Linked DNA regions of Homo sapiens: regions 1, 2, 3, 4 and 5 are each linked to region 6. The links are contacts of gene promoters, found by promoter capture Hi-C in blood cells and fetal thymus (Javierre and others, 2016). All regions are on one chromosome and are shown on one strand. The core of a region is centred on a gene start or on the middle of the fragment in contact, and the rest is flanking DNA. Distances in the headings are between cores, read along the strand shown.

Region 1 (3,584 bases), core at 280-2,779, 440 kb after region 6:
AAGAGGAAATGATCCATTAAAAACAAGCAAAACAAAAACAAAAACAAAAACTTGAGGAGCCACCCAAAGTAGGAATATGATCAACTTTCCTGAGGCTTGTAACCAAAATGTCATTATTGTCTCACCTTGAGACATCCAACGGGCCACCAGTGAGGCACTGTGAAGGGCCAGGGTCTGGAAGGTTTCATGAAGGTGAGGCAGGGCCCAGACCACATGGCATAAGTGGATTTCCAAGGGGGCCTGGGAAGGGCACTGGTCCAGGCAGAGGACAGGGTCTCAAGCCCAAAGGGCCTTATTTTTCATTATTTTTTCTTTTTTTTTTGAAACAGGGTCTTGCTCTGTTGCCCAGGCTGGAGTGCAGTAGCACGATCTCAGCTCACTGCAGCTTTGACCTTCCAGGCTTAGGTGATCCTCCCACCTCAGCCGCCCAAGTAGCTGGAACTACCGGCACAAGCCACCATGTCCAGCTAATTACAAAAATTTTTTAGAGACAGGGTCTCACTATGTTGCCCAGGCTGGTCTTGAACTCCTGGACTCAAGCGATCCTCCTGCCTTGGCCTTCTGAAGTGCTGGGATTACAGGGGTGTGAGCCATTGTCCCCAGCTGTGTTCTCTTTCATGTAAAAAGTAATTGAGTTTGGGCAACTGTGTGGATCCTAAAACCAGAAAACCACAACTAGAAGTTACTATTGTCATGTGTATAAGAGAAAAAGTGCAAAGGGACATCCTTTCCCCCAAGGACATGAAGCAACGAGGCTTGAGTTTTCCTAAATTATGGCCCAGGTGGTTTTTTTGTTTAGTCCCAGTTTTTAAGAAGGTCCCAGCCACCAGAATGTACTGTAAGCCCCAGGGGACCCTGTATAAAAGACTGCAAGAGGAAACCTCTAACCCATAAAAGGGAATCAGAGCTCTTGTTTGGTATTCTCATTACGGCCTATTTATTCCAGACCTTGAGTAGAGACATCATTCAGCAGCTCAGCCTTTCTAAACATGTGCCCCCACAATGAGACTCCATTTGCATAAATCTCCCAAAAGGCCCATCTCCATTCAGGCAGGGCCCCACCCATCCAACCACCTGAGCCCACCTCTCAGAGCCAGAGAGCAGCTGGGCCAGCCCCCAAGACTGAGGAGTCTGATGCATACACTTTCCAGTCTCTGCCTCAGGCAACTTTTTGTTTCATTCTTTTTTAAAATGCATATTATGCTCTTTTGGGCTCATCTCCACAGATTTCAGAGCTCTTTGTTATTAGTTCATGGTAAGGAACTTTGTTCTTTACAATCCTGGACAGACAGCAGGAGATTGAAGGCCTGAGACATTTTTGTCACTGCTGTCATGCTTGCATTACTGAGAAATGCCTATCCCCCTACCCCACGTTCTTACACACTCCACAGGGATGTCTTGAAGCTTCCACACTGCTGCAAGCCTAGCAGGTCAAAATGCACTGACTTTATCTCTCTCATTTCCAAAGTAATACTTGTTCATGGTTTTAAGAAAGAAAATACAGATGAAAAAGTGGAAAAGGAAAAATTCACTCTGATTTGATCACCCAAGACAAGTACTACCAACATTCTGAAACATATTCTTAAAGTCTTTTCTCTTTGTACTAAAGTAAAAACACTTTAAAAAATCTATAGGCTCATAAAAAGCAGATCACAAAGCTTCCAAAATATACATTTGGCCCCACAGTGGAACCAATTTAAATCTGTTTTAAAATAAGTGTGTAGAAGCTGTTAAAGCTTTTCTGCTCTAGTCATGGCAGAACTCCTTCCACATTCTCTGCACAGAGCTCTGAGTTTTCAGTGCAGAAGGAACATAATGGTACTTGTATGTGCACCTGTGTGTATTTAGGGGTGGGGTAGGGTGTGATGTGCCTCCATCAGCCATTCCCCTTAGTAGGTAGCCCAAACTTCTAGTACCTTCCTTGACCCCTGCCCACTTCCTTTTCTATTTTGGAGCAAATTAAGGCTGCTAGGGTTAAATCCTTCTCATATTCCTCATCTCACTGCCTCACTGTCCCTGGACTCACGGGTACCCACTGTCTTGGAAGATGAGGCTCAAGTCAATCCTGGCCCTCAGGGCCCCCATACCATTACCTCCAAGCTTTCTCCTTGTGTTCTTAGCAGGCTCTGAGCTCTCCCTGCCCTTTCATAGCTAAGCTGCTTGAAGCCTTGTGCACCTGATGTCTCTGCTGACCTCTCCCTTACTGTTCATGCACCTGTCCCCTCCATACCAGGGAACTGTTCGCACCAGGTCACTGAGCAACTCACTGTGGCCAAATCCAAAAGTCAATTCTTAGCCCTTGTCTTCCTTGGGGTCTCCTCACTGTCCTTCTCCCTGTCTGTGGGGCTGTGCCTCTCCCCTCCTCTTGGAATCCCGCCCATCCAGGCTACTGGTGTTCCTCAGGGTTCAGGGTTTCACCCCAAGACTCCTTCCTTCCCTGCTCATTCTGCACTCTCTCCTGAACAATCTTCAACTCTACTTCCACCATCACTCGGTGATAATGCTCCAATCACAAGCTCCAACTCAGACCTCTTGAATCTGCAGATCTCTCTATTTGGCTGTCCCAAAGGCACTGTGCACAGCTAAAACGGAACCTGCTGCTTTCTCCCCAAACTGTTCCCTCAAGTCTCCCTTTCCTGGCCCATGGCATATCCATGTACCCTGTCACCTGGGGTAGAAATCCAGTAACCACCACCAATTCCTCTAATCCTCTTCCCCACATCCCATTCACTCCACCAGGTTAATTCTGCCTCAGACTGTGCCTTGAATCCCATGCTCTCCCCTCCATGCCATCATCATGCCTTAGTTCAGCCCATCATCATCTGCCCCAGACTATTAGAGCATCTCCCAGGTCTTCCTGCCTCTAGTCTCTCCCTCAAATCCTGCAACCCACTTCTATCCTTTCTCCCAACTAATTTCCAGAGTAAACTTTCTTAAATGGAAATCTGATCACATTATTCCCCTGGCCTAAAACCTTCACTGGCTCCCTAGGGACCATGGACCAGAGTCCAAGCTCCTGGGCAGGGCTCTTGAGGCCACCATATCTCAGCTCTGGACTACCAATCCAGTGCCACCTCCCTCCGTAAACAGTCCCTCCCTGTGGTCTATTTGGAGTTTCCCAAAGGCAACATTCTAAGTTTTCCTTTCTACCCTCAGGGGCTCCATTTAAGCACCAACCAAACCCTCACCCGCTCCAACTTGCCAGGCACCTCCTTGCTTCTAGCACCCAAATTAAAATGCACCCAGGGATCACCTTCTCTGCTACTTCCTCATGGCCCCAGGCCACATCCAAGGCAGAACCCATTACTTAGCCTTTGTGCTACCACAGCTTGTATGTATAGTATGGAACACGTCATTTAATTACACACCATCTCTCCTACATCACAAGACATTCCTGGAGGACAAGACAACATCTGTCAACTTGTAGCTCAGCAAACTGCTTAGGGCCTGGCACGAAGAATGTATTCAATAACTCAAGCTGAATAATGATACATTTATTGAGCACTTACAGGCCAGGCATAGTTCCAAATGCTTTGTGACAAAACTGTATGTGTTAGTTACTTCTGACAACAAACCTATGAGGT
Region 2 (3,882 bases), core at 29-2,528, 400 kb after region 6:
CAGACCTCTGACCATGGGTGAGTCTGCCTGAGGTATTCTTAGAAATATGCTTCTGGACATATATCTTGCACATGTGTGCATATTCCTGAGAAGTGAATTCCCAGTATGGGGTCACAGGGTCAAAATGTAGATACATTTTGCTAGTGCCAAATTACTTTGAGAAAAGATTGCATCAATTTATGCTCTACCGACAGATCTTTTTGATTCTTGCCAATCTAGTGGTTAAGTAATCTCATTGCTTTACTTTGCATCTGATTATTTGTGAGGTTGAATATTTCTTACATTAATTGACTCTCTCCTGTGAATTGCCTGTTCCTAACTTTTGTCCATTTTTCTACTGAGTCATTTATTTTTTCATATTGGTATGGTGTCTTTACACAGTAGAGTGTTATGTGCTGTGAATTTTTTTATAGCAGTTTTGTATTCAATTTTTTAAATTTGATTCTTATTTATTTTGAGGTGGAGTCTCACTTTGTTGCCCAGGCTGGAGTGCAGTGACACGATCTTGGCTCACTGCAATCTCCATCCGTCCCCAGGTTCAAGTGATTCTCCTGCCTTGGCCTCCTGAGTAGCTGGGATTACAGGCATATGCCACCACACCCGGCTAATTTTTGTATTTTTAGTAGAAACGGGGTTTCCCCATATTGGCCAGCCTGGTCTTGAACTCCTGACCTCAGGTGATCTGCCCGCCTTGGCCTCCCAAAGTGCTGGGATTACAGGCATGGGCCATCATGCCCGGCCGAACAGTTTGTATTTTTTTAAACACTAAGATGTCTTTCACCAGTAGAACTTTTAAATTTTAATGTAGTCAAATTTTTCAATCTTTTCCTTTACGGATACTGAATTTCATGTCATCCTAGGTGCATAGAAATATTCTCTTATGCTTTTTCTAGAATTTCCAGCTTTATTTACACAATTAGGTATTTATCTGGAATTTTTTTTGGGTGTGGAGTGATGTGGAGCTCCAACTTTGTCTGTGGTTTTCCTAGTACTTTGTAGCACTGCCTTTATTATGCTGTCAATTCCCATATATATCTGGGTCTCTGGACTCTTTAATTTGCTATTTCATTTGTCTTCTTCTAATATAACATCATACCACTTAAATTATTGTAGTCCTATAATAATTTTATATGATTATCATATCTACATATTGATATGTATTAGGCAAATCCCCACCCCACCCCCATTTTTGTCTATAGCACTTTTAGAATCATCTTGTCATATAATTTTAAAACAGCTGGGATTTAGATTGATACTGCATTGAATTTACCTATTTATTTGGGGGAGAATTATGCCAAATGACAATATTGTGTCTTGCCATCTAGGAATATGAGATTTTCCCATTTTTTTCCAGTCTTTTTTATCACCTTTAGAAAAGCTATATTGTTTTCTTTATATACCACTTGCACGTTATTAGTTGGGTTAATTCCAAGATGCATCAATATTATAGCTTTTATGAATGGAATATTTTTCATTGTATTTTCTAATTGTTTGCTGGACTATATGGAAATTGATTTTTGGCATGCTGATATATCCAGCAAAAAACTTTACTGAACTCTAATGTTTTGTTTCTGAGAGGTTTCTGATGGTCTGTTTCTTACAGGATGTCTGAATCTTCCAAGTAAAAATGAGTAGACTCCTATTTTCCTTAGACCACGATTTATCACATTTTAATGTGCACACAAATTACCTGGGGAGTATTGTTACAGTGTAGATTCTGATTCAGCAGGTTTAGGGTGGAGCCTCAGATTCTGTGTTTCCTACAAGCTCAGCTAGTATTGCGAAGCCCCAGAACACACTTTGAGTAGTGAGGGGCTAGCCAATTCCTTGCATGTGGATTCAACATAAAATACATGTTCCTCTTAGATTTTATGTAATAGATGACTGTTGCTAATACTCATGAAACAAGAACATCTGTAGTAAAGTCAGGCAAGACTCCAGGGAAGATTTGTGAAATGTCAGAGTTGGAAGAGCTTCTGGAAACCAGCTGGTTCACCCGTCTTGCTTTACATCTGAGAAAACTGATAGCAGCACCCAGGGTGCAGGTACACTGTGCCATGCCCTGGAATGGCCAGGACTTTTCAAAGAGGCTGAGCTAAGGCTCAGTTTCCTGGCTTCTCACCCAACTCATCTTCTCCCTCTTCCCATAACATCCTTGGCTGATTGTATGTCCGTATGTCTTTGAATTTTCCAGGACGGTGCAGCCTGGTGAGACCATCCAATCCCAAATAAAATGCACCCCAATAAAAACTGGACCCAAGAAATTTATCGTCAAGTTAAGTTCCAAACAAGTGAAAGAGATTAATGCTCAGAAGATTGTTCTCATCACCAAGTAGCCTTGTCTGATGCTGTGGAGCCTTAGTTGAGATTTCAGCATTTCCTACCTTGTGCTTAGCTTTCAGATTATGGATGATTAAATTTGATGACTTATATGAGGGCAGATTCAAGAGCCAGCAGGTCAAAAAGGCCAACACAACCATAAGCAGCCAGACCCACAAGGCCAGGTCCTGTGCTATCACAGGGTCACCTCTTTTACAGTTAGAAACACCAGCCGAGGCCACAGAATCCCATCCCTTTCCTGAGTCATGGCCTCAAAAATCAGGGCCACCATTGTCTCAATTCAAATCCATAGATTTCGAAGCCACAGAGTCTCTCCCTGGAGCAGCAGACTATGGGCAGCCCAGTGCTGCCACCTGCTGACGACCCTTGAGAAGCTGCCATATCTTCAGGCCATGGGTTCACCAGCCCTGAAGGCACCTGTCAACTGGAGTGCTCTCTCAGCACTGGGATGGGCCTGATAGAAGTGCATTCTCCTCCTATTGCCTCCATTCTCCTCTCTCTATCCCTGAAATCCAGGAAGTCCCTCTCCTGGTGCTCCAAGCAGTTTGAAGCCCAATCTGCAAGGACATTTCTCAAGGGCCATGTGGTTTTGCAGACAACCCTGTCCTCAGGCCTGAACTCACCATAGAGACCCATGTCAGCAAACGGTGACCAGCAAATCCTCTTCCCTTATTCTAAAGCTGCCCCTTGGGAGACTCCAGGGAGAAGGCATTGCTTCCTCCCTGGTGTGAACTCTTTCTTTGGTATTCCATCCACTATCCTGGCAACTCAAGGCTGCTTCTGTTAACTGAAGCCTGCTCCTTCTTGTTCTGCCCTCCAGAGATTTGCTCAAATGATCAATAAGCTTTAAATTAAACTCTACTTCAAGAAAACTCTGTGGTCCCTGAGTCCTTTTTTCTTTATGCCAATAAGCTTCTTAAATGTGCTGGCGGTTTATGCAGTCACTTGGGGAGCCATGGAATCCTTTGATCTCCCCAGGCAAGGTGCTCTGAGGAGTTGGCTTCTTTATTGTCTGTTCAGTACATCCAACCCCTCTCTCAAAGGCTGTCACCCCAACTGGATACACACCCTGGCAAAGGCACGTAGCTTGAATGAGGGTTATTTTGTGTCTAATTCACAGGAGAGTCATGGGTGGGATACCTGTCATCCTCTGCCTTTCCAGCTGTCCAAGTGAAAAAAACCTCAATCCTGGTCACCCTTGCCCAAGTTGCCCACATCCCTGGCATACAGTAGGTGTTCAATAAATGTTTATTGAAGGAAAGGTGACTGTTCCTTCTGCTGGAAATACCACAAGGGTGGTGACACAAACAAGAGTTTGGTCAGTCACTCCACAGCACAGTGTCCGATCCCAAGAGGTGATATAGCCCGGCACGGCCACTGTGTGGTGCCGTATGACACTCACTTGTCTCCCACACTGGGAATGGAAGAAAAGTAGCTTTCCTAGAGGTGCCTTTAGGGTGGCCCATAAGGAAGGACACTGCCCAAGGGTTTGAGCTGGGATCTCTTAATTAAAACAGGAGACTCCAGTCACTGAGGGTGAGC
Region 3 (3,498 bases), core at 929-3,428, 370 kb after region 6:
ATTATCTGATTTCTTGGACGAATACTTGTGTGGTTTCTGCTGAAATAGTGTATTTTGTGTTTTAAAATTTGGGGCTATAAGCTCACCTTGAGTGTGACTTTATCTGTGGGAATGCCATAAAACTTTGGTGGAGAATGAATTACTCCAAAGAAGATTGGCGTTTATCCCCTAAACCAGTGACAACTGTGACTAGGAGCCAGTTTCTGCCTATGAGCCAAGGACAACTGTTTATTTTACTTTCTCAGTATGGGGGAATCCCAGACCTCTACAGAAAGAGGTGATGTTTGAAATTTTTCATAACCGGTATGCATTCTGCAGGGGCTGTGCTCCCACAAGCACTCTGGGAAGGAGACTCTCCAGGAGTGCCTGCTGGCAGGTGGCAGTAGACTCAGGCAGCAATATGGACACTGGGGGGTGGGGGAATGTGATTTCTTGTGGCAAAAAGTACAAAGAAAAATCAGCAAAGGGAAAAGCCTGCTGGGGTGAGGTCCTGAGGGAGCTAGGCAGGTCTTCCAAGAGTCCTCTCCAGTGTCACACAGGATGTGTTTAATTCCTTTAGCAATTAGTTGTGACATGTTTTTTCTCTGTGTATCTCATTCATTCAGCAATCATAACTTTATTTTCTTTTTGTTTTTAGTAATCTCTTATTCTCACCCAGACCTTTCATCTGGAATGGTTGTTTGCAAGAGGGACAAAAGCATTTTTACAGAAAAATATTTTAATACAACCTAACCAGAATAACACATCATATTCTGGAATTGGTCAGGACAAAATCCTGAATTTTCAAAAATTTTCAAAATGGTAGTTCGGGTGTGGTGGCTCGTGTCTGTAATTCCAACATTTTTGGAGGCTGAGGCAGGAGGATCGCTTGAATTCAGGAGTTTGAGACCAGCCTGGGCAACATAGTAAGACTTCATCACCACTATGAAGTGCACTATGGTGCACACCTGTAGTCCCAGCTACTCTGGAGGCTGAAGTGGGAGGATCCCTTGAGCTCAGGAGGTTGTGGCTGCAGTGAGCCGTGTTCACACCACGGCACTCCAGCCTGGGTGACAGAGCAAGGCCCTGTATTAAAAAAAAAAAAATCAAAGTAATCTTAAATAACCTCTCACTATTTTTTGTCCTGATCATTTATTCATTGAGCAGCCTAGAAAAGGTCAGTCCCTTTCTGGGGAAAGCTGTATTTAATAATCAAACTGCCTTACCAGAAGGAAGGAGAAGGAAATTGTATTAGTTTATTTTCTGTTGCTTATAAAAGAATACCTAAAACTCAGGTAATTTATAAAGAAAAGAAATTCATTTATTACAGTTATGGAGGCTGAGACTCCAAGGTCGAGGAGCTGCATCTGGTGAGGGCCTTCTTCCTAGCGAGGACTCCCTGAGGAGTCCCAAGGTGGTGCTGGGCATCACATGGTAAGCTCAGGTCTTCCTCTTCTTATAAAGTCACCAAGATCCTCTTAAGTGCGTTTTTTCTTGTCATTTCAAGAGTCCCACTTGACCCACTCAAAAATATACATACAGACTGGAAAATCATAAGCTTCTAAGGCTGACAATTTCACAAGAGCTCATTAGCAACTAATGCTAATTTTAGTTTAAAAGCAACTTTGCTTTTTAAAACTCCAAAAGTATATCGCCATCTGGAGATTGCTTGTCTTTTATGTTGTCTCCTTTTTTCCAGAGGCTTCATAGGCAAAAGTTATAGCAAAAATTATCCATTGCAGAGACTTTTGTTTTTTAATACTCAAATAATTTAAACTCCAACCCACACATTGGTGGCAAGAAACAAGGACATTGTATTCCACTGACACTTTTTCTTTGCAGGTTTCCCTGGTCATCTTGCATTTATGACACTGCAAGCATTAAACTGGTATATCAATTTTGACCATCTATCCAAGTGCAATAGCTACAAAATAAAAATACAAACGCTTTTTTTTTTTTTTTTTTTTTAGAGTTGAGGTCTCACTTTGTTGCCCAGGCTGGCGTGTTGTGGCTATTCACAGCTGCAATCATAGCTCACTGCAGCCTCAAACTCCTGGGCTCAAGTGATTCTCCCACCTCAGTCTCCCGAGTAACCGGGATTACAGGTATGTGACTCCAAAGGCATTTTTTTAAAGACAGCCCCAGTGTGGCTTCCTGTAGTTCCAGGATTCCTCCAGCCTCCCAGATCTGCCTTAAGCAGTGCTCAGGTCACAGAGCAGTGCCCAGGAGAGGGTGAGGGAGGAGGCTCCAGTACTGGCCATCTGTTATGTGCTGTATGTTGGTTTCTTAGGGCATTCAAATGACCACAAATGAGGCTGCTTAAAACAACAGCAATTTATTATTCTCTCGTTCTGGAAGATAGACATCCAAAATCAAAATGTCCGCAGGGTCCTGCTCTTGCAGAAGCCTCCAGTGGAGAATCTTCCCTTGTCTTTCTTGGTTTCTGGTGGCTCCAGGTGTTCTGTGGCTTGCAGCTGTGTAACTCCAGTCTCTGCCTCCATCTTCACATGACCCTCCCCTTGCCTTTCCATGTCTCTTATAAGGACACTTATTCTTGGATTTAGGTCCTACCTGGATAATCCAGGATAATATAATCACAAGATCCTTAATCACACCTGAAAATCCCCTATTTCTATAAGGTCACATTCATAGGCTCCAGGTGGAGATATCTTCTGTGGGACCACCATTCAACCCACTATATGCCCATCTGCCTAACATTAATGATGGCCTGCATTTTGTCGAGTGCCTACTGTGTGCCAGGCATGTGCCAGGCACTCAATGTGCACACTAGCCACCAAGGGAGGGACTATGTTTACCATTCCAGGGAGATAAGGTCTTAAGAAGCTTCCACAGAGATGACTGCATTTAGGATTTGGATTTCTTAACTGCTCTTTCCTGCTTCCTGGTACCAAAACCTATACCTTTACCCCTTGGGAACCCAGGTCACCCACCTGCCCAGTCCATGGGGGAGCAGGAATAAGTCAGAACATGGGAGGGACTGTTAAAGCCCTTTTCCAGCTGTGATTGCTTTGCGATTGGCTCTGGGTCCCACAGCAGGAGCTCTGCTGTCCAGGGAAATGAAGAAGCCTTTCAGGATTGCAGCTCCTGACAGCATGCTATGGTTTGAATATGTCTCCCCCTAAAATTCAGGGGTTGCCAATGTGGTGATACTAAGAGGTGGGGCCTTTAAGAGTTGATTAGGTGATAAGGGCTTCTTCCCTGTGAATGAGATGAGGTGCCCCTCTAAAGGGACCTGAAGGAGGGAGTTGGTCCTCTCTCGCCCTCTGCCTTCTGCTATGTTACAATGCAGCAAGAGGCCCTCACCAGATGCTAGTGCCTTGATCTTGGACTTCCCAGCCTCCAGAACTGTGAGAAATAAATTTCTATTCTTTCTAAATGACCCAGTCTCAGGTATTCCATAACAGTGGCACAAATGGGCTAAGATGCTCCAGCTAGCCATCGGCCCACCCCAAGGTTTCAGCCCAAGAAGGGGAAGCACCTGGGAAGGTAGGTCTGTCT
Region 4 (3,521 bases), core at 587-3,086, 420 kb after region 6:
CTCCTACCTTGCAGGCTTGTTATAAGGGCGAAACAATGCACTGCTCAAAAAGCCCTTTGGGCCATTCCTGGCTCCCAGTAGGCATTAATGCAATGGTGCCTTCCAGCACCATTACAACAACAGGGACATTTTGCCTCACTGACAGTCTGTGCTACCCCTATCACCTGCCCAAGTCTGTTAACTTGACGAGAGGTGGGAGGTGTTTGGGATGATAAAATATCCTAATTGGACTCCCTTGTCAAGTAACCAAGGCCACATCTGGAGTAGATCTGGTTCCCCAGGCCTAGCAGAAGGCATGTACTTCAGAATGCTCACCAAGTGATCAGGAACTTGCTGGCGACTCACCTAGATATGCAGAATGGCAAGTTCTGCACATACCCACTCACCCCTACCCTCCTCTCCTATCTCTATTGTCTGCTGGCTTGACCTCTGCCATTTGACTTATGCCAGAATTGTGGGAAGAAGTCAGCATGTATAGGAAGAGCAAAAGTTCTAAAGACAGTGAAATAAAAAAAAGGAGGCCCATGGAGGGAAAAGCTTAGGAAATACAATGTTCCTTGCTCAAGACGTTTGTCTCACAGATTGTGAGTATGAAAGAGCCAGCCCAGCAGGTGGCCTCTTATTTCTTTTCCTCCAGCATCTATTGTTTTCCTTCAGGATCTGTGCAATCTTCTGGCTGGAGTTTCTCCCTCAGTATTTGCACATTTCAGTGGGAAGCCTCTAAAGCAGGAAGAATTATCTACAATCTTAATGTAAATTCACGATTATCAGTGTAAGCAGTTAAAAAACACCATCACAAAAACCAAAGAAATTAATAAAGAAACTCCATGTCCTAGCCAGAAAGTAAAAAATGAATCTCTGCAAGACTGGAATAAAATGATCTTTGATTTAAGTGCCTCATGGAAAGACAGAAAACAAAACTTCTCTCCCAGCATGGCTCCCACGCATTGGAACCGGCCTCTGTGCTTGCTTGGGGCCTGCATTCTCCCTGGGCACGCTCAGTCCAGAGGGTCTGTCTGTCCAACTCATGACTTTACCTGTCGAACTGAAGTTAAGGGGCTGCATTTTTTCATGAAGAGAGATTCCAGTCTCTGCCATTTCTTCCCTGTTCAGTCCATAGGCTTTCAGGAGATTTAATAAAATGAGGTTGGCCCCTGGCACCATGAAGGAAACAAAGAGCCTCCCCGCCCCCCACTCAGGTCACACACCCACCCTGGAGCAGGGAGGAAAGCCTCAGCACATACTCACTTGTCCAATCTTCTTCAAAGCAATGCAGGAAGTGGAATCCCACCATGATGAGGGCGTGCAAGGAAATGAGAGCTATGTACATCTGAAACAGGAAACCAGTGCAGACACCATTGTTGTGAGAATCCTCTGACCTCACGGGCTCCCGGGACAGGGGCACTCAGAATTTGCCACTCAGGAACACTTAGTCAGGACAAGGCCTGACCAGGAGGGACCAGAGGGCCAGCTAGCGATTCCCTACAGATCCGTCTACCCACCAGCCCTGGGTCAAGTGAGCAGCCACCTCCGGGAGTACGTGGAACCAGAACAGAAGCAAGCCCGTCACCAGGCATGACCTGGGCTCCAGGCAGTATGAGCTGCCTGGGCGGGGGGTTCAAGCCTGCTGTACCTCCTCCCTTGAAAAGCCAGGGTGCTGACTGCTGAGGGCCCTTCTAGTCCTTGCACTAAGTAGACTCCACCTACCTGCACCTCAGGATTTGAGGTCATCACCCAAACTGCCTTCTTGAGCTACTTAGGTCCAACACTTGGAATGGGAGCCCAGAATACAGCCCTTGCTCATAGCTAATCAACTGAAATCAATTTTCTAAACGCTCAAGTGAAGGGCTTAGGTACAGGCACTTGTTGAGCCAGAGAGATCTTTGGCAGGAAGGCAGAGATCTACAGGGCCAGGCAGTATTCTGAGCAAAGAACATCGTGAATGCTGAGAATTTTCAAAGGAACAAAGTGCTCCATTGCTTCATGGGGGGCAGGGCAGAATTTGCAAGCTGACTTACTGTAAACAGGACGAAGTACTTCTGGTTGTTCTCGCCTACACAGTTGTTGACCCAGGGACAGTGGTGGTCCATCTTCCGAATGCACCGCTTACAAACACTGAAACAGCCCACAGGTCAGACCTTTAGGGCATCCCCATGGTGTTGGGAGGGCCCCGGGGGAACGCAGAACCCATGGCTCCTGCTCCACTCCTCTGAAATGGCTTCCTTGGGCACTGCCAGGGGTTTTGCTGGGTGTGTGTCACGTGGGGCTTGGGAGGCAGGGTCAGGACCCCAGGGGTGGCAGTCATTCCAAACGGGTACAGAGTCATTCTCCAAAGCCCCTTAGCTTAACACATACATAGGACGGAACTGACATGGTTACATGGCTAAGATAGAACCTGCTCTCCTGAAGTAATGGGGCTTACGATTTGGTTTCCCGAGAGAAAAAGAATGAAGCAGTTTCAAAAACTTGACCAAGTGGGCTAAGATTTGGAGAATGGCTGCTACCTATTTCCCCAAAAGACCAAACCACCAAGGGATGGGTGGAAGTTCTAGAAGCACTATGAGGTGCTACCAGGGAGGGCCAGGTACCTCCACCATGGAAGGACAAAGGACAGAAGAGAGGGCTATTTCAGAGCAAGGTCAAGGACAGCAGGAGGCCCAGCTCCAAGAACTTTTTGGCTCTAAGATGACATCCATTTAGCCAAAAAAAAAAAAAAAAAAAGCAAGCAAGCAGAAAAGTCATTTGAGTCCAGGCGCAGTGGCCTGTAATCCCGGCACTTTGCGAAGCTGAGATGGGCAGATCATCTGAGGTCAGGAGTTTAAGACCAGCCTGACGAACATGGCGAAACCCCATCTCTACTAAAAATACAAGAATTAGCTGGGTGTGGTGGTGCATGCCTGTAATCCCAGCTACTCGGGAGGCTGAGGCAGGAGAATCACTTGAACCCAGAAGGCAGAGGTTGCAGTAAGCTAAGATCGTGCCACTGCACCCTAGCCTGGACAACAAGAGCAAAACTCTGTCTCCAAAAAAAAAAAAAAAAAAAAAAAGTCATTTGAGCTTAACTGTCGACCAGATCAGTTCATTAATTTGCACATTTCTAACATTATTGGGATAATTTTTGGGCTGAGCCTGTTTCAAGCTTATTTGATAGCAAGCACAAACCCGCTCCCCCTTTGGACAATTCAAAGTAATAATATGAAACAAGCGTCCCGGACTACTAGGGGCTTGAAAGCAACTGCTTCCCAAAGCTCAAGTTTAGAAAGACTCATTTGCCATGAGAAAGAAAAAAAACTTTTTAATCTGAGGAATGTGAGCCCATTTAATTATTAGGCCTAGAGAGGCACTGAAATAAGACAGCCTGTGACAGCAGTCATGTCTCACACCCCCCTTCGAGATAAATAATTACCTTTCTTTGTGTGTGTGTTAGATAGGATCTTCCTCTGTCACCCAGGCTAGAGTGCAGTGGTGCGATCACGACTCACTGCAACTTCCCGGGTTCCAGCAATCCTTCCACCTCAGCC
Region 5 (3,944 bases), core at 1,148-3,647, 470 kb after region 6:
GTATAGAGGAGCAAAACACAATTTACACCATCCAAATAAAGGTCAGGATGCAGGTGAATGAGCCTACCATGGAATCTCAACTGATTCAGTTCTGAAATCTCCTAAACTTTTGTTGCGTTGGTTATAGAGTGCCGGCAGTGCACCTTAAGCAGTGCCTGCCTGAACTCCTGTTGCTTGTATAGTCCTAGTCATTTTGTGTTTTACTTTTCACCTTTGGTCCAGTAACGTCCATTTCAGCTTCTGATGTCACTTTCCCTTCAGCCTTTGGTTCTTTTACTATTTCAGGGAATATTTCATCTTGTTTTGGTGATAGTTAGAAGCAGTTGAAATTAACCTCACGATGTGTTGAGGATTCAGTTGCTAGTAATGGTAACCAACACATCGGCTCAAGCAAAACAGTATGGATTACAAGGCTGCAAGTGTTTCTCCAGGAATCCTAATCTCTGCTGGTTTTTTTTTTCCCCCTCTTTGCTTTGTTTTTGTCTCCCTACAGATTGGTTTTCTATTTCTTGGGCCAGTGGTAGAAAAAATGTGGTTCCTTCCCAGTTCCTCTGTAAAAGAGACCATTCCTTCTCGTTCAGTTCTGAACTCATGTTTCCAAGAGAAAGAAACTCTAGTTCTTTTAGGGGGTTGAGGGAAAGGATGGACAGAATAATTAGGCTCAAACATGGCCACTAGAGGATGTGTCACACTTGGGAGAAGTCAGTTTGTGAGAAGGGAGGGTGGATCATTTTAGTTATTGGCAGAAAATGGAACCCTCTTCAGGTAGTTCAGGAGACTTTTATGATGGGACTCTAGAGCAGTATGGGGGGGGTTTCAGGGAACCAATAAGAGATGTTGAGGAGCCCCAAGACAACTACTGGGAGTGGCTACTGCCCCTATTCCAAAGGGGCCAGGGGAGGAAACAGTATTACCACATTTCAGTGATAGCTGGAACTGTGGAGGAAGGGCTGCCCAACATAAGTCATAGTCTTCGATAGATGCAGGCACTATCAGAAATGTGGCCACTAGATTGGGGGTGAGGGGCACCCTCTGATCTGGTATCTTCCACTGGACAAACCCAACCAGAAGCCAGCAAAGGGAGTCTAGGTGATACAATTTGAGTCAACCTGGTGAACAGATCCCCTCTCCCAGGGGAGAACAGAGAATCAAAAAGGTGGATTAAATCGGTATTTTGATAAATAATTTGATTGGTTTCTGTTAGGTTCTCTTTCAGTCTTTGAAGGCTATATCCCATTCTTATTAGGTACATATTATAATTTTTATTTCATTGAATATTTACAACAGTTCTGAAGGTAAATGTTATCTCTATAGATGAGGAACTGAGCTCGGGCAGGTTGAGTCGCTTGTCAAGGTGACACAGTAATTGAGTGGTGGCACTGGGATTTAAATCCAGACCTGTCTGATTGCAAAGCCCATACTTGACTCTGAGGCCACCTTCCTGCTGCAGTGAAAGTCATTTCTTCCATTTCCTCAGTAGGGATCCAGAGATCAAGGCAGGAGAGAATCTTTGCTTCCTCTACCTCCTTTTCTTTCCCCCTTTCTCTAAAAGCTTGTGGGGAAACTGGAAGGGAAAGAGAAAGTTCTAATTGACACCTCCCACTCCCCAGTTTTTCTAGAGCTTAAATAGTATATGGCATATACTGCTGTATTGTTTTGGTTGCATTTTTCCCACATTGAGTATAAGTTCCTTTAGAACCCTATATTGCATTTCTTTGTATAGCTTTTGTCTTACTAGTATCATAAACGATTTACTCTGCCCATACCATGCAGAACTTGGAGCAGACTTCAGAATTTTTAGAATCTAGGATTTATCCTCTTTTCTGGCTTACTGGGCTAGATGTGTGTTTTCCTCATCCATGAGAAGCCATTGCTAACCTCCCTCTTAGCCCAGGGATTCTGAAGCCTTGAAGTGCATTTTACTCACCTACAAAATACAGATTCTGAGGCTTTACCCCAACATTCTGAATCAGACTCTCTGGGGCTGGGGCCTGAGAATGGACATTATCATAAAGTGTTGGGAAATTTGGGGGCAGCCACCAGACATTGGCCCATGGGTAAGCCACTGACCAGAGATAAAGAAATCTCTGCTCTCTCCTGCTGAAGTCATATGGTTTCCTGCCTCTTTTTGAATGAGGCTTTGGAGTCAGACTGAGCAGGCACCTTCACCATTTACAATAAGTGGTTTTACTTGCATAACTGAACCTGCTTCCCTTGTGTAAAATGGGGACTTATGCACCTGGAAGTAGAATGGGGTTATGAGGAATGATGAGATAAGAGATGTCAAGCACTTGGGCTGTGGTTAACACAGAAAAAATGCTGGCTCCCTTTCAAGTTTGTTTTTCCATCAGAAGTGTGACTTTGTCTTAAACCATCCACACTAGATCCCCAGCCTTCATAGTGACCTCATTAAAGATTCAGCCTGTGGCTCCTGAGAATTAAACCTCTTTTGATTTGAAGGAATCGGGATTTTTCAATTATCTCAAGAAAAGGGATAGGCCAGGTGCAGTGGCTCACACCTGTAATCCCAGCCCTTTGGGAGGCTGAGGTGGGAGGATCACCAGAGGCCAGGAGTTGGCATCCAGTCTGGGCAACATAGCAACACCCTATCTCTAAAAAAAATTAGGTGTGTGGTGGTGTGTGCCTGTAGGCCTAGCTGCTTGGGAGGCTGAGGCCAGAGGATCGCTTGAGCCCAGGAGTTGGAGATTTCACTCCAGCCTGGGTGACAGAGAGATACTCTGTCTCTTAAAAGAAAGAAAAAGAAAAAAGAGAAGGGGGATCTGTGGCAAGAGCTGGAAAGTCCCCAGACAGCTCTGAGGTACCGCCTCTCATGGGCTCCGTGGATTATCTCATGGCCTGTGTGGCTGTCTGTCTTTATCTCTAGTGACATCTCTGCTTTTCTCTGCCAAGATTTATCCCTTCTCTGCAGCCACTTGCTGTCCAGCTTCCCTTCTTTGTAGAATCTGCCTCTGCCCAATACCTTTACTTTCGTGTGGCCTCTCTGGGCTCCTCCATATCATGACCTGTCAGCTCCTCTTTAACTCCTTTCTTCTCTCAAGTGTTTCTCAGATCAGAGACCAGATTGCAATGAGAGAATCAGTTTGGTCTGGTAGTATTTCACGCCAAAAAGAGTTGGTCACCCTTTGGATTATATGCCTTTGGTTCAGGCACCTACCCCTGGTCCTGGCTGTTGGGGATGGATGGTGACTGTTATGTGGCCTTTACAGGGCTTTAGGCACAATAAAGCTTTCCCAGGTTCAGCCTACTGAGTGCTATGGCTATGACCTGGACATTAAACTGGCCCTCATAGGTTCAGACCTGGCCATGGCAATTGACGAACCCTACCACAGGGCTCTTGGAACCCTGTGAAAGCCATTTTATTGTATGTTCTTGGCTGTTGAAGGGAGTTGTAGCCCAGCTGATGGCTTCCATTTCTTTTCTGTGGATCTTGCTTTCATCATAAGCATTGTTTAGGGGTATAGCATGGAAGAGGGAGATCAGGGCCTCAGCCTGGTTTTCAACTATGAGATTGAGCAGTCAGTATTCGGTTGCTCAGTCTGGCCATGACAGAATTGGAGCCAGCCCTCAGGACTCTTGATTTTTAGCTCTCTGCCCTTTCTGTTTACAGACCCATGGCACAGAAAGCCTTATGCCCAGACACTGCAGGATGCAGAGTTATGGAGCCATATCCTTTCAGAGGAATGCCTGGCTACTCAACAGGGTTGGAAAGTCAAACAAGGATCAACACCTACTTTTGCCTGCTGTGTGATGGGCCCGAGCCTGCAAAGCTGGACCAAATGTGGCCCCTTTCCTAAGGGCGGGGGGCAGTCACCTTCTAGTAGGGGAAGGAATTTAGTCTCACTTCTCCTTTAGGAATCTGGAGTATTAGACAAGTCAAAGCAAGTTAATGAGGGGTTAACATAACCTCAGAGGACCACTTTGAG
Region 6 (4,043 bases), core at 1,131-3,630:
CCATTGCACTCCAGCCTGGGCAACAAGAGCAAAACTCCATCGCAAAAGAAAAAAAAAGAAAGAAAGAAAGAAAAAAGAATGAGACTGAGCACACTCCAGTTCTTCCCATAGGGCCCCACCTCTTTCCAGGATCTCTGCCCCACTACATGCCCTAAGAGACCTTAAAAATCCCTCTTCACCACACCCAGAGGAGGGTACTTTGAGCATGAGCTTTTCCTTCTCCATTCCTTCATCAACAAATAAAGTTTCTGCACTGCTTAACGAAACTTGGTCTCATTTTATTGGCATGAACACCACCAGGCAGGTAAAGGACCCACTGAAGTCAAACGACTTCCCTTGAGAGTTGGTAACAGTAGCATTACAAGTCAGTGGGAAAAATTAAACTAGTCAATGAATTGTGTTGGGACAATTGGCTAGGCAAATAAAAATAGTAAGTAAAATCACACAAAAAATAAAGAAACTTAAAAAACAAAGCTAAAAGGCTGGGTGCGGTGGCTCACGCCTGTAATCCCAGCTCTTTGGGAGGCCAAGGTGGGTGGATCACAAGGTCAGGAGTTCAAGACCAACCTAACCAAGATGGTGAAATCCCATCTCTACTTTAAAAAAAAAAAAAGCCAGATGTGGTGGCAGGCGCCTGTAATCTCAGATACTCGGGAGGCTGAGGCAGAGAATTGCTTGAACCCAGGAGGCAGAGGCTGCAGTGATCCAAGATTGTGCCACTGCACTCCAGCCTGGGTGACACAGAGTGAGACTCTGTCTCAAAAAAAAAAAAGAAAAAAACCATAAAGACTCTAAGAACCCTGGTGTAACCAAGAATTTCTTAAGACAACAAAATGAAAAGAGTGAATATATTTGAATACATCAATATGAAAAAAATCTCTGTCCAAAAGAAAAGCAAAAGAAAAAAACACCAAACACAAACCACTAATAGATGTGGAAATGTAATAGCCAACAGGAAGGATAGTTTGAAAGTCCACAGTAAAACTAAAAAGACATATTCCTTACGCTACAGGAATTTAACTTGTAAGAATCTGCCCTGAAAAACACTTGCACGGGTATTCAGACATTTACACAGGTATTTACTAAAATATTCTCTGTAATAACATAATACTGGATTTAACCTACTTGTCCATCAATATGGCTAAATAAAAGTAGCATTTTTATAGGATGAAATACCATACAGCACCTAAAAGGAACATACTAGATCCTTATGCATCACCATGACTGTTCCACTATTCACCAGGTGGCCAGGCTGTGCTGCCAAGATTAAAAGGCCATCCAAGGAAGGGATAGCACATGATTTGAGGTCGCTGAGGACAGATACCAACCACATCAGGCCCCAAGAGGTACAGCGTATACTTACAGCAAAAGGAGAAACAGGGAACAAGATCCAGCCTCCTGCAATGCAAAGAGCCCCCACACCCAGCAGATCCACTCCACAGCTATAGGGCTGGTGTGATGCACACACCCCACTTAGTAAGGAAGAAAGATCTCAATCCACCCTCCCCACTCCTATGGGGTGTGAAATACAGAAGGCTGAGAGAATGAATGAAGGCCACTGACTTAAGAGATTAAACACAACAAAGGAGTACACATGAAGCCTGAAACACTGAAAGACACAAGGCATTAAATGCAGCAGCACAGGCTGTGAGGGCTCTAACTCTGCAAGGAAATGTTCCAGGCTCAAGGTCACTCTTACATTCTTAACTTGGCAATGGGCTATTTAAAAAAAAAAAAAAGACATTAAAAACTGTCAATTCTTCTTGTCTCCCAGTTTAGATATTCCTTCTTTCATTAATTTAACAAACACCTTCTAGGAGCACCTACTATTTCCCATACACTAAGGTAACAGCAGTTAATAAAGCAAACAGAAAGCACTGCCCTGGCAAGGGGCTTATGGGAAGATAACCAATAAACAAATACATGCTATGTTAGACGGCGACAGGTGCCAGGAAGTGAAATAAGACAAGAAAAAGGGAGAAGTCTATGCCAGATGTTTTCAATGTCAGGAGACCTGGAGACTAAGATTTCCGGACGGTGGCTACTTTCACTTTTCTTCCACTTATCTAATTGTCTCTAATAAGTACGCTTTATTCGCATAATTGGGTGAAAAGATAAAGCCAGAAGAAACCGGGAATTTTCCAGATTCTCTGCCCCAGACGCCCGGGGGGCGAAGAGGTATGCCCTCGGCGCGGCCGGGCGGGATCCACGGCCAGACCCCCGCCCCGGGTGCAGCCTCCAGGCCCGGCCTCACCTGCCACTCTCGCACGCACAGCCGCCCCCGCTCCGCACCCCGCGCCCCGCCGGGCCGCTCACCGACTCCGCCGCCGAGAGACAATCATCCAAACGCCGCCACCGCAGCCGACCGCCCCGCGCCTACCTCCCAGCTTCCCCAGTTGCGCACGCGCGTCGCCTCCCCGGGCCCTCTGCGGCCTCTCTAGGAAACTGGGAGGGCCAACATCTCTGCTTCTCCCTGGGCCCAGGGCCGCTGGCGGCGGGCGGCGGGCGGCGGGCGGCGGGCGGCGGGCGGCGGGCGGCGGGGCTTGTCCAGCATCCTTCGCCTCCTTCCGCGGACACTTGTCTTCCACGCTCTGATGCCCAGGCGCGCTCCAGAACTCTATCGGCTTTGGCGTATTATCCTACATCCCTCCCATCGGTTCTGCACGGCTGCCCTGGAGGCCTCTTTTCCTTCAGGGAAGAAAGGGATCCAAAGCTAGCGGTGAAAATAGAGCCAGCGGCCTGGCGCGGTGGCTCACGCCTGTAATCCCAGAACTTTGGGAAGCCGAGGTGGGCGGATCACGAGGTCAGGAGATCGGTGGCTAACACGGTGAAACCCCGTGTCTACTAAAAATAAAAAAAAAGTAGCTGGGTGTGGTGGCGCGGCGCCTGTAATCGCAGCTACTTCGGCGGCTGAGGCAGGAGAATCGTTTGAACCTGGGAGGCGGAGGTTGCAGTGAGCCGAGATCGTGCCACTGCACTCCAGCCTGGGAGACAGAGCCAGACTCCGTCTCAAAAAACAAACAAACAAAAAAATAGGGCCAGCACATCCCCAAACATAAAACCCTTGAATGGAGAAATTCCCAAACAAGGCAATAAGCCCAGCACTGGCCGTGAGAGTTTATTATCCCCTTTTAAGTAAATGCTACAAGCCCTAGGCGCACTTTTGCAACTGTTCAAGGGTCATCAGGCTGCACATGACTGACCAAGACACTCAGTTGCCCACTTTGGATGGAGCTACAGCTTTGTGGGAAAAACAGATAATAGAAATTACACAAATACATCAATGTCAAGTGGTTACGAACACTGTTGAAATGTAACAGAGTTATTTAATTGACAGCGACTGATGATAATGCTTGTATTTTTTCTGGTACTTTTCTGTATACTTCCGGTAGCTCATAACACACTGGCTGCCATGCATTGATTTGAGTTGCCCAAGGAAATAGAGTCAGTAACTGGAATAGCCACTGAATCCAAATCTTTTGGTCTTTTCACTACTGTGCTTCATAAAAGCTCTCCCGTCCCACGTCCCTGTAGAGGGAGAGTTGGGGATAGCATGGCTCCTAGCTGAGATCCCAGAAGCTAGGGGTAGAAGGTTGTGGGCAGGATAGTGAGGAGGGCAAGATTCCAAGGAAAACTAAAATCCCTGCCCAGGAACGGTTACCACCTGGGAAAGCAGGAATGACCCAACGCATCAAGGCCCAGAGTGTACTCAAAGAACAACAGGTTAGGATGAGGGTCAAAACTCAGACCAGAAAGAGCATTAGCTGAGCTTGGTGGTGCACGCCTGTAGTCCTAGCTACTGTGGAGGCAGAGGCGGAAGGATCGCTTGGGCCGGGGAGGTCGAGGCTGCAGTGAGCTATGATTGGGGCAGTGTACTCCAGCTTGGGCGACAGAGCGAGACCCAAGGAAGGAAGGGAGGAAGGGAGGGAGGGAAGTGAGAAAGAGAGAAAAGGAATGAAAGAGAGAAGGAAGAAAGAGAGAGAACGAGAAAGAGCAGGCTGCTTCTTGGGCTACAACCTGGAGAGGCTGTGTAACATTATGAG

The links. Contacts are between HindIII fragments. The CHiCAGO score rates a contact against its expected background, and 5 or more counts as called.
Region 1: a fragment that was not itself captured here is called in contact with the fragment with the promoter of ZNF852 in region 6 in 4 of 17 cell types (total CD8 T cells, naive CD8 T cells, non-activated CD4 T cells and 1 more); the score reaches 5.8 in total CD8 T cells.
Region 2: a contact is called between a fragment that was not itself captured here and the fragment with the promoter of ZNF852 in region 6, in 15 of 17 cell types (naive CD8 T cells, total CD4 T cells, activated CD4 T cells and 12 more). The highest score is 17.1, in naive CD8 T cells.
Region 3: a contact is called between a fragment that was not itself captured here and the fragment with the promoter of ZNF852 in region 6, in 8 of 17 cell types (activated CD4 T cells, naive CD8 T cells, non-activated CD4 T cells and 5 more). The highest score is 7.8, in activated CD4 T cells.
Region 4: a fragment that was not itself captured here is called in contact with the fragment with the promoter of ZNF852 in region 6 in 1 of 17 cell types (total CD4 T cells); the score reaches 6.7 in total CD4 T cells.
Region 5: a contact is called between a fragment that was not itself captured here and the fragment with the promoter of ZNF852 in region 6, in 2 of 17 cell types (total B cells and non-activated CD4 T cells). The highest score is 5.2, in total B cells.

Annotation. Positions count from the first base shown.
Region 1 is chr3:44,949,532-44,953,115 of GRCh38, forward strand. All of the region lies in intron 2 of ZDHHC3 (zDHHC palmitoyltransferase 3), which reads right to left. Among named protein-coding and RNA genes, the nearest start is that of ZDHHC3, 25 kb to the right of the region's middle. The HindIII fragment of the contact is 254 bases long and covers 1,403-1,656 here.
Region 2 is chr3:44,911,390-44,915,271 of GRCh38, forward strand. It overlaps TGM4 (transglutaminase 4), which reads left to right. Exons shown (of 14, transcript NM_003241.4): 13 at 1-17; 14 at 2,195-3,601. The coding sequence ends at 2,336. It overlaps ZDHHC3 (zDHHC palmitoyltransferase 3), which reads right to left. Exons shown (of 7, transcript NM_001135179.2): 7 at 3,872-3,882. Among named protein-coding and RNA genes, the nearest start is that of TGM4, 39 kb to the left of the region's middle. The HindIII fragment of the contact is 3,807 bases long and covers 1-3,182 here.
Region 3 is chr3:44,880,132-44,883,629 of GRCh38, forward strand. The region is part of intron 1 of TGM4 (transglutaminase 4); the gene reads left to right. Among named protein-coding and RNA genes, the nearest start is that of TGM4, 7.3 kb to the left of the region's middle. The HindIII fragment of the contact is 1,286 bases long and covers 1,536-2,821 here.
Region 4 is chr3:44,931,870-44,935,390 of GRCh38, forward strand. ZDHHC3 (zDHHC palmitoyltransferase 3) reads right to left here. Exons shown (of 7, transcript NM_001135179.2): 4 at 2,019-2,115; 5 at 1,249-1,330. Among named protein-coding and RNA genes, the nearest start is that of ZDHHC3, 43 kb to the right of the region's middle. RefSeq lists an enhancer at 1,894-2,721. The HindIII fragment of the contact is 2,602 bases long and covers 536-3,137 here.
Region 5 is chr3:44,979,139-44,983,082 of GRCh38, forward strand. The region is part of intron 1 of EXOSC7 (exosome component 7); the gene reads left to right. Among named protein-coding and RNA genes, the nearest start is that of EXOSC7, 4.9 kb to the left of the region's middle. The HindIII fragment of the contact is 1,694 bases long and covers 1,551-3,244 here.
Region 6 is chr3:44,508,237-44,512,279 of GRCh38, forward strand. It overlaps ZNF852 (zinc finger protein 852), which reads right to left and starts at 2,381. Exons shown (of 4, transcript NM_001423469.1): 1 at 2,317-2,381. RefSeq lists enhancers at 1,764-2,540, 2,541-3,317, 2,776-2,835 and silencers at 2,146-2,305, 2,316-2,375, 2,506-2,555. The HindIII fragment of the contact is 19,774 bases long and covers 1-4,043 here.